2 separate regions of the Homo sapiens genome follow, and region 2 is linked to region 1. The links are contacts of gene promoters, found by promoter capture Hi-C in blood cells and fetal thymus (Javierre and others, 2016). All regions are on one chromosome and are shown on one strand. The core of a region is centred on a gene start or on the middle of the fragment in contact, and the rest is flanking DNA. Distances in the headings are between cores, read along the strand shown.

What was found. The method cuts DNA at HindIII sites, captures the fragments that hold promoters and counts their contacts. A CHiCAGO score of 5 or more calls a contact.
Region 2: a contact is called between a fragment that was not itself captured here and the fragment with the promoter of VHL in region 1, in 15 of 17 cell types (non-activated CD4 T cells, activated CD4 T cells, fetal thymus and 12 more). The highest score is 10.8, in non-activated CD4 T cells.

What each region holds. Positions count from the first base shown.
Region 1 is chr3:10,137,692-10,143,027 of GRCh38, forward strand. VHL (von Hippel-Lindau tumor suppressor) reads left to right here and starts at 4,087. Exons shown (of 3, transcript NM_000551.4): 1 at 4,087-4,496. The coding sequence starts at 4,157. It also overlaps the pseudogene LOC124906359. RefSeq lists an enhancer at 5,004-5,336. The HindIII fragment of the contact is 16,438 bases long and covers 1-5,336 here.
Region 2 is chr3:10,260,071-10,265,406 of GRCh38, forward strand. It overlaps TATDN2 (TatD DNase domain containing 2), which reads left to right. Exons shown (of 8, transcript NM_014760.4): 3 at 67-600. Among named protein-coding and RNA genes, the nearest start is that of TATDN2, 14 kb to the left of the region's middle. RefSeq lists a silencer at 3,865-4,054. The HindIII fragment of the contact is 1,822 bases long and covers 2,379-4,200 here.

The sequences.
Region 1 (5,336 bases), core at 2,837-5,336:
AAAAGCCAAACTCATAAGGCTACATATGATACGATTTTGTTGTGTGACATTCTGGAAAGGCAAAACTATAGGGACACAAGACAGACAGACCAGTGCTTGCCAGGGATTAACAGTGGAAGCAGGGTTTGACCATGAAGGAGTTTTGGGGGTGACAAGATACTCTGGTTTTTTTTTTTTTCTTGAGACAGAGTCTCGCTTTGTCGCCCAGGCTGGAGTGCAGTGGCACGATCTCAGCTCATTGCAAAAACTGGAAACGAAGTAAATATGGCAACATGCTAATTACATGTGACATTATCAGTATTTGCTTTATTATTGTACTTGTATATTTTAATTGGTCGACATACAAACAAGGCAAAATATATCCCCCTTAGAGAAAATTTGGAAAAGACAGAAAAGGAGATAGAACAAGTCACCAGTTGTCTTTATTTATTTATTGAAACGGAGTCTCGCTCTGTCGCCCAGGCTGGAGTCCGGTGGCGCCATCTCCGCTTACTGCAAGCTCTGCCTCTCGGGTTCATGCCATTCTCCCGCCTCAGCCTCCCGAGTAGCTGGGACTACAGGCGCCCACCACCATGCCCGGCTAATTTTGTTTTTGTATTTTTAGTGGAGACAGGGTTTCACTGGGTTAGCCAGGATGGTCTTGATCTCTTGACCTCGTGATCCACTTGCTTTGGCCTCACAAAGTGCTGGGATTACAGGCGTGAGCCACTGCGCCCGGCCCACCGGTTGTCTTTAGACATTGTATTTTTTATTCTTTTCTACATGTCTTTTTGCCTAATGAAAAGTGTACTGTAAGAAAAATTTTGCCTGTGTATTCTAAACTTGTTTCCTTTGCAACTTTTTCTTTTCTTTTTTCTTTTTTGAGACAGAGTCTCGCTCTGTTACCCAGGCTAAAGTGCAGTGTCGCGATCACAGTTCACTGCAGCCTTGACCTTCCTGAGCTCAGGTGATCCTCCAGCCTCAGCCTCCTGAGCAGCTGGGACTACAGGTGCACCCACGCCCGGCTAATTTTTTGTATTTTTTGTAGAGACAGGATTTCATCATGTCGCCCAGCCTAGTGTCGAGCTCCTCAGCTCAAGTTATCCGCCCACCTCGGCCTCCCAAAGTGCCGGGATTACAGGCACAAGCCACCGTGCTTGGCCACCCCTTCCTCTTAAATGATCTTTGAAACATTATTTGCAGTCTCAAAGCCTGCATTTATCTAAACAACTGGTTTCATTTTAGGGATGTAGGCATTTCTGTAATATTAAACTGTTATATTTCACCTCGCTAGCATGGGAGTACAACTGAGGGGATGTTTGCATGAATCTTGTGAATTATGATGGCTCTAAGCCATTGTAATTTGATTAACAGAAGTCCTACTTTGGGGTTTATCTTATTTTTATTATTTATTTATTTTTTGAGTGGAGTCTCACTCTGTTGCCCAGGCTGGAGTGCAGTGGTGCTATCTGGGCTCACTGCAACCTCTGCCTCTGGGGTTTAAGTGATTCTCCTGCCTCAGCATCCCGAGTAGCTGGGATTACAGGCGCAGGCCACCATGCTGGCTAATTTTTTGTATTTTTAGTAGAGATGGGATTTCACCATGTCGGCCAGGCTGGTCACAAACTCCTGACCTCAAGTGATCTGCTCACCTTGGCCTCCCAAAGTGCTGGGATTACAGGCATGAGCCACTGCGTCTGGCCTACTTTGGGATTTTTCTCTACAGTGTTTTCATGTTGTTAATGTAGCTGGGGGTCCAGCATCACTGCTGGTCACTTAATCCTGCTGGAGGCCACCAGGATACACCATCTCTGTGCAGTGAGCTGTCAAGGAGAGCCCTAGGCAAAATTACTTAGGTTCATGGTGTCAGTGCTTTTGTGGAGATATCCAACTCCTGAGGTTCACTCATACTGTCATTTTCTCCTAAGGCATCAGGTGATGAGCCTCTCTGATCCAGCATTTTGACTACCCTTTTCACATTTTTTTTTTTTTCTGAGACAGAGTCTGGCTCTGTTGCCCAGGCTGGAGTGCAGTGGCATGATCACGGCTTACTGCAGCCTCAACCTCCCAGGCTCAAGTGATCCTCCTGCTTCAGCCTCCTGAGTAGCTGGGACTACAGGTGCACGCCACTATGCCTGGCTAATTCTTTCATTTTTTATAGAGACAGGACCTCGCTATGTTGCCCAGGCTGGTTCCAACTCCTGAACTCAAGTGATCCACCTGCCTTGGGCTCCCAAAATCTCGGGATTACAGGCGTATAGTGCTAGGCCTTCACATTCTTATATACCCTTCTGTTTCCTTAGCTGTGAAATGGAGATAATGACATAGCCTTAATTCACGTGGGATGCTTAGCACAGTGTCTGGCACTTGATAGATTTTTTTCTTTCTACTTGAAATTTATTTTTGAGCTGGGCACGGTGGCTCACACCTGTAATCCCAGCACTTGGGAAAACCAAGGCAGGCAGATTACCTGAGGTGAGGAGTTCAAGACCAGCCTGGCAAACATGGTGAAACCCCGTCTCTACTAAAAGTACAAAAATTACCTGGGTGTGGTGGCACACACCTGTAATCCCAGCTACTCCAGAGGCTGAGGCACGATAATCACTTGAACTCGGCAGATGGAGGTTGCAGTGAGCTGAGACTGAGCCACTGCACTCCAGCCTGGGTGATAAAGCGAGACTGTCTAAAAAAAAATTATTTTTAACTAATATAAAACTCTCTGAACCCTTCTTTTTCTGAGCTGCTTCTCCACTTGAGTCCATCCCACATCATTGAACATTTAATTACACAGAATTGTGTACCATCTTCCTTGACCCCCAGATCTTTAGCCTTCTATAGTACCCTGTCTCTTTTTGTCGTACTAGTCACAGTTGCACTTTTTTTTTTTTTTTTTTTGAGACAGAGTCTCATTCTGTCACCCAGGCTGCAGTGCAGTAGCACAATCTCAGCTCACTGCAACCTCCGCCTCCCGGGTTCAAGCAATTCTCCTGCCTCAGCCTCCTAAGTAGCTGGGATTACATGCGCGCACCACCACGCCAGGCTAATTTTTGTATTTTTAGTAGAGACGAGGTTTCACCATGTTGTCAGGCTGGTCTAGAACTCCTGACCTTGTGATCAGCCCACTTCAGCCTCCCAAAGTACTGGGATTACAGGCATGAGCCACTGCACCCGGCCATAGTTGCTATTTTATTTGTGTGATTGATTACCGTATGACGCTTTTATTGAAGTGCAGTGAAGGCAGGAAACATGACCGGTTTTTACAATATTTTCAACACTTATCACCATAGGTGGTACATAGTAGGGCCTTAATAAATATTTGTAAAATGAACAAAGTTAATGAGTGTTTATGTTTGTAGTTTTAATTGCTCTGAAGTAAATATCTGATTTTCCAATTTCCACCAGAGTGCTCTGCACATAGTAGGTCTAATTATTTTTCCCTCTTTACTAATCACCCATGCCTTGTAAGAATTCAGTTAGTTGACTTTTTGTACTTTATAAGCGTGATGATTGGGTGTTCCCGTGTGAGATGCGCCACCCTCGAACCTTGTTACGACGTCGGCACATTGCGCGTCTGACATGAAGAAAAAAAAAATTCAGTTAGTCCACCAGGCACAGTGGCTAAGGCCTGTAATCCCTGCACTTTGAGAGGCCAAGGCAGGAGGATCACTTGAACCCAGGAGTTCGAGACCAGCCTAGGCAACATAGCGAGACTCCGTTTCAAACAACAAATAAAAATAATTAGTCGGGCATGGTGGTGCGCGCCTACAGTACCAACTACTCGGGAGGCTGAGGCGAGACGATCGCTTGAGCCAGGGAGGTCAAGGCTGCAGTGAGCCAAGCTCGCGCCACTGCACTCCAGCCCGGGCGACAGAGTGAGACCCTGTCTCAAAAAAAAAAAAAACACCAAACCTTAGAGGGGCGAAAAAAAATTTTATAGTGGAAATACAGTAACGAGTTGGCCTAGCCTCGCCTCCGTTACAACGGCCTACGGTGCTGGAGGATCCTTCTGCGCACGCGCACAGCCTCCGGCCGGCTATTTCCGCGAGCGCGTTCCATCCTCTACCGAGCGCGCGCGAAGACTACGGAGGTCGACTCGGGAGCGCGCACGCAGCTCCGCCCCGCGTCCGACCCGCGGATCCCGCGGCGTCCGGCCCGGGTGGTCTGGATCGCGGAGGGAATGCCCCGGAGGGCGGAGAACTGGGACGAGGCCGAGGTAGGCGCGGAGGAGGCAGGCGTCGAAGAGTACGGCCCTGAAGAAGACGGCGGGGAGGAGTCGGGCGCCGAGGAGTCCGGCCCGGAAGAGTCCGGCCCGGAGGAACTGGGCGCCGAGGAGGAGATGGAGGCCGGGCGGCCGCGGCCCGTGCTGCGCTCGGTGAACTCGCGCGAGCCCTCCCAGGTCATCTTCTGCAATCGCAGTCCGCGCGTCGTGCTGCCCGTATGGCTCAACTTCGACGGCGAGCCGCAGCCCTACCCAACGCTGCCGCCTGGCACGGGCCGCCGCATCCACAGCTACCGAGGTACGGGCCCGGCGCTTAGGCCCGACCCAGCAGGGACGATAGCACGGTCTGAAGCCCCTCTACCGCCCCGGGGTCCATTTTGCAGACGGGGAACTGAGGCCCCTTGAGGCAGGACACATCCAGGGTGACGCTGCTCGTAAGCGTCAGAGCATTCTTTTTTTTTTTTTTTTTTTTCTGAGACGGAGTCTCGCTCTGTCGCCCAGGCTGGAGTGCAGTGGCGCGATCTCGACTCACTGCAGCCTCCGCCTCCCGGGTTCAAGCGATTCTCCTGCCTCAGCCTCCTGAGTAGCTGGGATTACAGGCGTGCGCCACCGCGCCCGGCTGATTTTTATATTTTTAGTAGAGACGGGGTTTCACCATGTTGGTCAGGCTGGTCTCGAACTGCTGACCTCGTGATCCGCCCGCCTCGGCCTCCCAAAGTGCTGGGCTTATGGGCATGAGCCTCCGCGCCCGGCCCAGAGCATTCTTTATAAGGCCGAATAGTTTGCATTTGAAGGTGGCTCCCCCCAGTCCCCCACCCCACGTGTATTTTCCCCTCAAAGAAAAGCTGCATCCTTAACACCCCATCTGTTCAGTCCTCATGACTCCAGTGGGCCAGTTCTGCGTAGTCCCTGCCCTCGTGGAGAACACATTCCTCCTGGGGAGACTGACAGATGCAAAGACAGGAACAAGCCAGGGTCATGTTGGCGCCGGAAGAGCCGACCGTGTGTGGCGTGGGAAATTGACTTACCTGCCTGCTGGGAGATGGAGGGGTTGCGGTTGTGTGGTTTCAGTTAAGGAGCACTTCCCGGAGAAGGAAGAGAGCAGGATGGAGTAGGAACTAGCCAACCCTAGGTAAGA
Region 2 (5,336 bases), core at 2,040-4,539, 120 kb after region 1:
GCCAAATGCTTCATGTACGAAAGTGCCCTTGGAACAGCCCTTTCAATTCTGTTTTTTTTTTCCCAGGTTGATTCCAAAGATAGTTCTCATAACTCCACAAACTCTGAATTTGCAGCTGAAGCTGAGGGTCAGAATGATACAATTGAGGAACCCAACAAGGTCCAGAAAAGGAAGAGGGATAGACTTCGAGACCAGGGCTCCACAATGATCTACCTGAAGGCTATCCAGGGCATCCTGGGGAAATCGATGCCAAAAAGGAAGGGAGAGGCTGCCACTCGGGCAAAACCAAGCGCAGCAGAGCATCCCAGCCATGGAGAAGGACCAGCCAGGAGTGAAGGACCAGCCAAGACTGCAGAAGGAGCAGCCAGGAGTGTCACAGTCACTGCTGCTCAGAAGGAGAAAGACGCAACCCCAGAGGTCAGCATGGAGGAGGATAAGACAGTGCCAGAGAGGAGCAGCTTCTATGACAGGAGAGTAGTTATAGACCCTCAAGAGAAACCCAGTGAGGAGCCCCTTGGGGACCGAAGGACTGTCATTGACAAATGCTCTCCACCCCTAGAGTTCTTGGATGACTCTGACTCTCATTTAGAAATCCAAAAGGTGAGTAAAGCTTGTACCAGGCATCTGACTTTTTAGTTCTGTTGATGAAATGTGTTCCATCTTTCTAGTTTGATCCTAAGTGTTACTAATTAAAAATAGTACTTTACTTAACCAGGCCTCCAGGGAACAAACTGATGGTTTTCTTCTAACATACTTTTCAGATTTTCAGAGTTATTAATAAACCTAAACTAAGTGCTTTTTTTTTTTTTTGAAGGATTTATATGTTAGGATATGGGTTTAGCTGCTGTGTAAAAGGCCAAAATCACAGTGGCTTAAACAGAATATAAGTTTGGCTTAAGAAGGATGGCTCCATCATGTCAGAGATACTGGTACCTTTTGTCTTGATTCTCTATCACCCCTCAACACAGTGTCCATCTCTTGGTGTGAAATGGATACTCTGATAGGACTCAGGGTTTGTTATCTGGGCATTCTGGCCAGTGGGAAGGGGAGAAGAGGAGAGTGCATTCCTTCCCTGTTAAGAGCTTGGCTCAAGAGTTGCACATGTTGTATCTGCTGTTGACAAGAGCGGGGAAACCCGGCTGACACCTGGCTGCAAGGGAGTCTGGAAAATCAGCCTTTATCTAGGCAGACTTGTACCTGGATAACCAGAGAAGAAGGGAAGGATGTCATTGGACGGAAACTAGTGATTTTTAACATAGCTTATAATTGAGGGGAAGCATTCCTCCATCTTTTTCTTTTTTTTTTTTTTTTTGTTGTTGGGACAGAGTCTTGCTCTGTTGCCCAGGCTGGAGTGCGATGGTGCAATCTTGGCTCACTGCAACCTCCACCTCCTGGGTTCAAGCAATTCTCCTGCCTCAGCCTCCTGAGTAGCTGGGATTACAGGTGTGCGCCACCAAACCGGCTAATTTTTGTATTTTTAGTAGATATGGGATTTCTCCATGTTGGCCAGGCTGGTCTCGAACTCCTGACCTCGTGATCCACCTGCCTTGGCCTCCCAAAGTGCCGGGATTACAGGCATGAGCCACTGTGCCAGGCCACATTCCTCCATCTTACTCGTCTCCACCCATCCTTTACTACTGCTCTGCAGGCAGCTTCTCTCATCTTTAGCTCTTTCTTCTAGTACTTACCCCATGTTTCTAAATAATCTTTACTGTTGATCAGTTTTTCAGTTTTAGATGTCTGAGGACTTCTTGCTTGGGCGATGAGAATTTAGTTCTCTATACCTCCTTCAGAAGCACCCACACCCAGGGACACATTAGCTTCCCCTTTCTGCAGCCTCCCTGTGTGGCTTGAATACCTTTTGGGTTAAGTCTGTGTAAGATTTGTTACTGCCATGTTCACAGCTGAGTCGCCTTGTATACTCTGATCACATTTTCTTTCTTGTAAAACTTCATTTTCCTTAAAGTTCATCATTACTTTGTTTTTCCTTTGGTTTTCCTGGTACCTTTCACTAATTAATCCCCAAACTGCGAGAGCTGTAAAATCCTTCTCAATACTGTCAAAATAAGGAATCTGTTTCTTTTTTTTCTCTCTTGGAGGTATACGTCCTCAGCCCTCTGTTGTCCTGCTCTGGTCTGGACTGCCTGCCGTCAGGCCAGCTGGCAGCTGTCTCTCTGGAGCCTCCTTCACATTTCTCCCGGATTGAGTCTTCTGCTACCTATACTCTGTGTCTTCTCATGTTCTTCTTCCTTGGTTTACTCTCACATTTTGGTGGAATACTTTTTCTAGTAGCTTCTTGAGAAAGGGTACATGGAGAAACTTTTTTTGGTAAACATGTGTCTGAGATTGCCTTTATTTTACCTTTAACCTTGATTACAAGCTTGGTTGGTTTTGGAATTCCAGGTTGGAAATTGTTTTGTTTGGGATTTTGAAGGCATTGCTCCTTTTCTTCTGGGCTTTTTTTTTTTTTTTTTTTTTTTTGAGGTGGAGTCTCGTTCTGTCTTGCCCAGGCTGGAGTGCACTGGTGTGATCTTGGCTCACTGCAGCCTCCACTTCCTGGGTTCAAGTGATTCTCCTGTCTCAGCCTCCCGAGTAGCTGGGATTACAGGCACACGCCACCACACCTGGCTAATTTTGTATTTTTGGTAGAGACAGAGTTTCATCATGTTGGCCAGGCTGGTCTCAAACTTCTGACCTGAGGTGATCCACCTGCCTAGGCTTCCCAAAGTACTGAGATTACAGGTGTAAGCCACTTCGCCTGGCCTCTTCTGGTTTTCTTGATGTCTGAAGCTATGCTGGTTCCTGAACCTTGGTATATGATTTTTTATTTTTTATTTTCTTTTGCTTTGAGACAGAGTTTTGCTCTGTCACCCAGGTTGGAGTCCAGTGGCGTGATCTCAGCTCACTGCAATCTTCACCTCCCAGGTTCAAGCGATTCTCCTGCCTCAGCCTTGTGAGTAGCTGGGATTACAGGCATGTGCCACCACACCCGGCTAATTTTTGTATTTTTAGTAGAGATGGGGTTTCACCATTTTGGTGAGGCTGGTGTCGAACTCCTGACCTCATGATCCGCCCGGCTCAGCCTCCCAAAGTGCTGGGATTACAGGTGTGAGCCACCGTGCCCAACCTGTATTTTTTTTTTTTTTCCCTCTGTGGAATCTTGTAGAATATATTTTGATCTCAGGGCTCTGAAATTTCATGGTGGTGGTGTCTACTTTGCTTAGCATGGGACATTCCCTTTCAATCTAGAAACCCTTGTACTTTAGCTGTGGGAAAAGTTCGTGAATTACTGTACTTCGCTGATGTTTTCTTTCCGTATTTTTCTTCTCTCTTTCTCTCTCTAGCTTCTCTACCTTCTTTCTCTTATTTGGATGTTGGATTTTTCAGGACTGGTCCTGTAATTTTATTGCCTTTCTCCCTTGTTTCTAGCCAATTTCTTGCTTTACTTTGTAGGATATTTCCTTTTCTTTATCTTCCAACCCAGCTGTTTATTTAGTTTTACTTTTCTACTGTCATGCTTTTTATTATCCAAGAGCTCTTTTGTTTTTTAATAACATCTCTGTTCTTGTTTCATCTTCTGTTATCTCTTTTAGGGAGTTCATGGTAGTTTTTTGGCTTGGTTTTAGTTTTCTTTAAGTTGCTTCTTTCCGTTTCTTTTGATCTCTTCTGTGTTAGAGGCTGCCTTCACATGTCTGGTAATCTTTGGTTGTCTGTTTATGATCAAGAATGGGAGGATTAAAAAGCTGTTTGGAAGCTCTGAGCGTAAAGACTTTGAGCTTTGCTTTGGGATGATCGGGAGAATATAACCCTCTTCCCCTTGCCATGTCACTGCTTTTAGGAAAGCCTCGAGACTGGTCACCTTGCCCAGAGGAGTGTTTTTCAGCCTGCTTAGGAGGAAAGGTGGCTGGGAGCTGGGTAGCGAAAGGGGCGGCTGCGGGGGCGGCGTCAGCATTCACTTAATCTTTGTCTTTTTGGTGCAGTACCAGTGCCCTCCACTGAGCTGACCAGGCCTTATTCTAGAGATCCTCTTGTTTTACTGTCTTCAAACAACTCACCTTCTCTGAGTATGAGGAGGGAATCTGGGATCTAACTCATTGGAAACCAGATTTCACCCTGTCCTCCTCCTTTTAATGTTCTTCTGTAACTCCAGTTCCTCCAGTTCCCAAGGTGCCCAGTACCGCGAGTGCCTGCTCTGTTCTAAGCTTTCCTGGTGCCTAGCTTAGGTCTCAGCCTTCTCTTGGTCTGCCAGTGAGGTGTTATTTGGCCATCTGCTTTCTAGCCTCCAGTGCGTGATCACTGTAGTCTCTTGTTCTTCCTGTTCTGGTGTTTTTGTTATTGTAGAGGGGTTTTATTTGTTTTTTGTTTGGTTTTTAGATTCTTTAGTTTTAGTGAGGTTTCAGGAAAGAGTAAAATAAGTCGAATTTGTTCAGTACATCCTTAGCCTAGAAAAGTTCTGGGAAAATTTCTTGATTATTTGATTTCTTGTCTGTTTCTTCTTTTTCTGGACCATCTATTTTATGCTTGGTCTTTCGGATGGAAATTCCAATTTTCTTTTCTTCCCAGTGAATCCTTTTTAAAAAATTTTTCTGGATGGTTTCTTCAACTTTATCTTCTTTTTTTTTTTTTGAGATAGAGTCTCACTCTGCCACCCAGGCTGGAGTGCAATGGCTTGGTCTTGGTTCACTGCAACCCCTGCCTCCCAGGTTCAAGCGATTCTCCCGCCTCAGACCCCTGAATTGCTGGGACTATAGGCGCATGCCACCATGCCTGTCTAATTTTTGTATTTTTAGAAGGGACGGGGTTTCATTTTGGCCAGGCTGGTCTCGAACTCCTGACCTCAGGTGATCTATCCGCCTCGGCCTCCCAAAGTGCTGGGATTACAGGCGTGAGCCACCGCGCCTGGCTCAAGTTTATCTTCTAACGTTTATGTTGATTTTTTTTTTTTGGTCTTTTTTTTTTTTTTCCTGTGCGTGGTTTTTTTTTTTTTTTATTGCTGCCAATTTTTTTTTCTTTTTTGTCTTTTTGAGACAGAGTCTCACTCTGTGGCCCAGGCTGAAATACAGTGGTGTGATCTCAGCTCACTGCCACCTCTGCCTCCTGGGTTCAAGCAATTCTCCTGTTTCAGCCTCCTGAGCAGCTGGGATTACAGGCATGGACCACCATGCCTGGCTAATTTTTGTATGTTTAGCAGAGACAGGATTTCACCATGCTGGTCAGGCTGGTCTTGAACTCCTGACCTCAGGTGATCCACCTGCCTCGGCCTCCCAAAGTGCTAGGATTACAGGCATGAGCTACCACGCCCGGCCAGAACTTTAAAAATTAAAAATTTTAGCTGG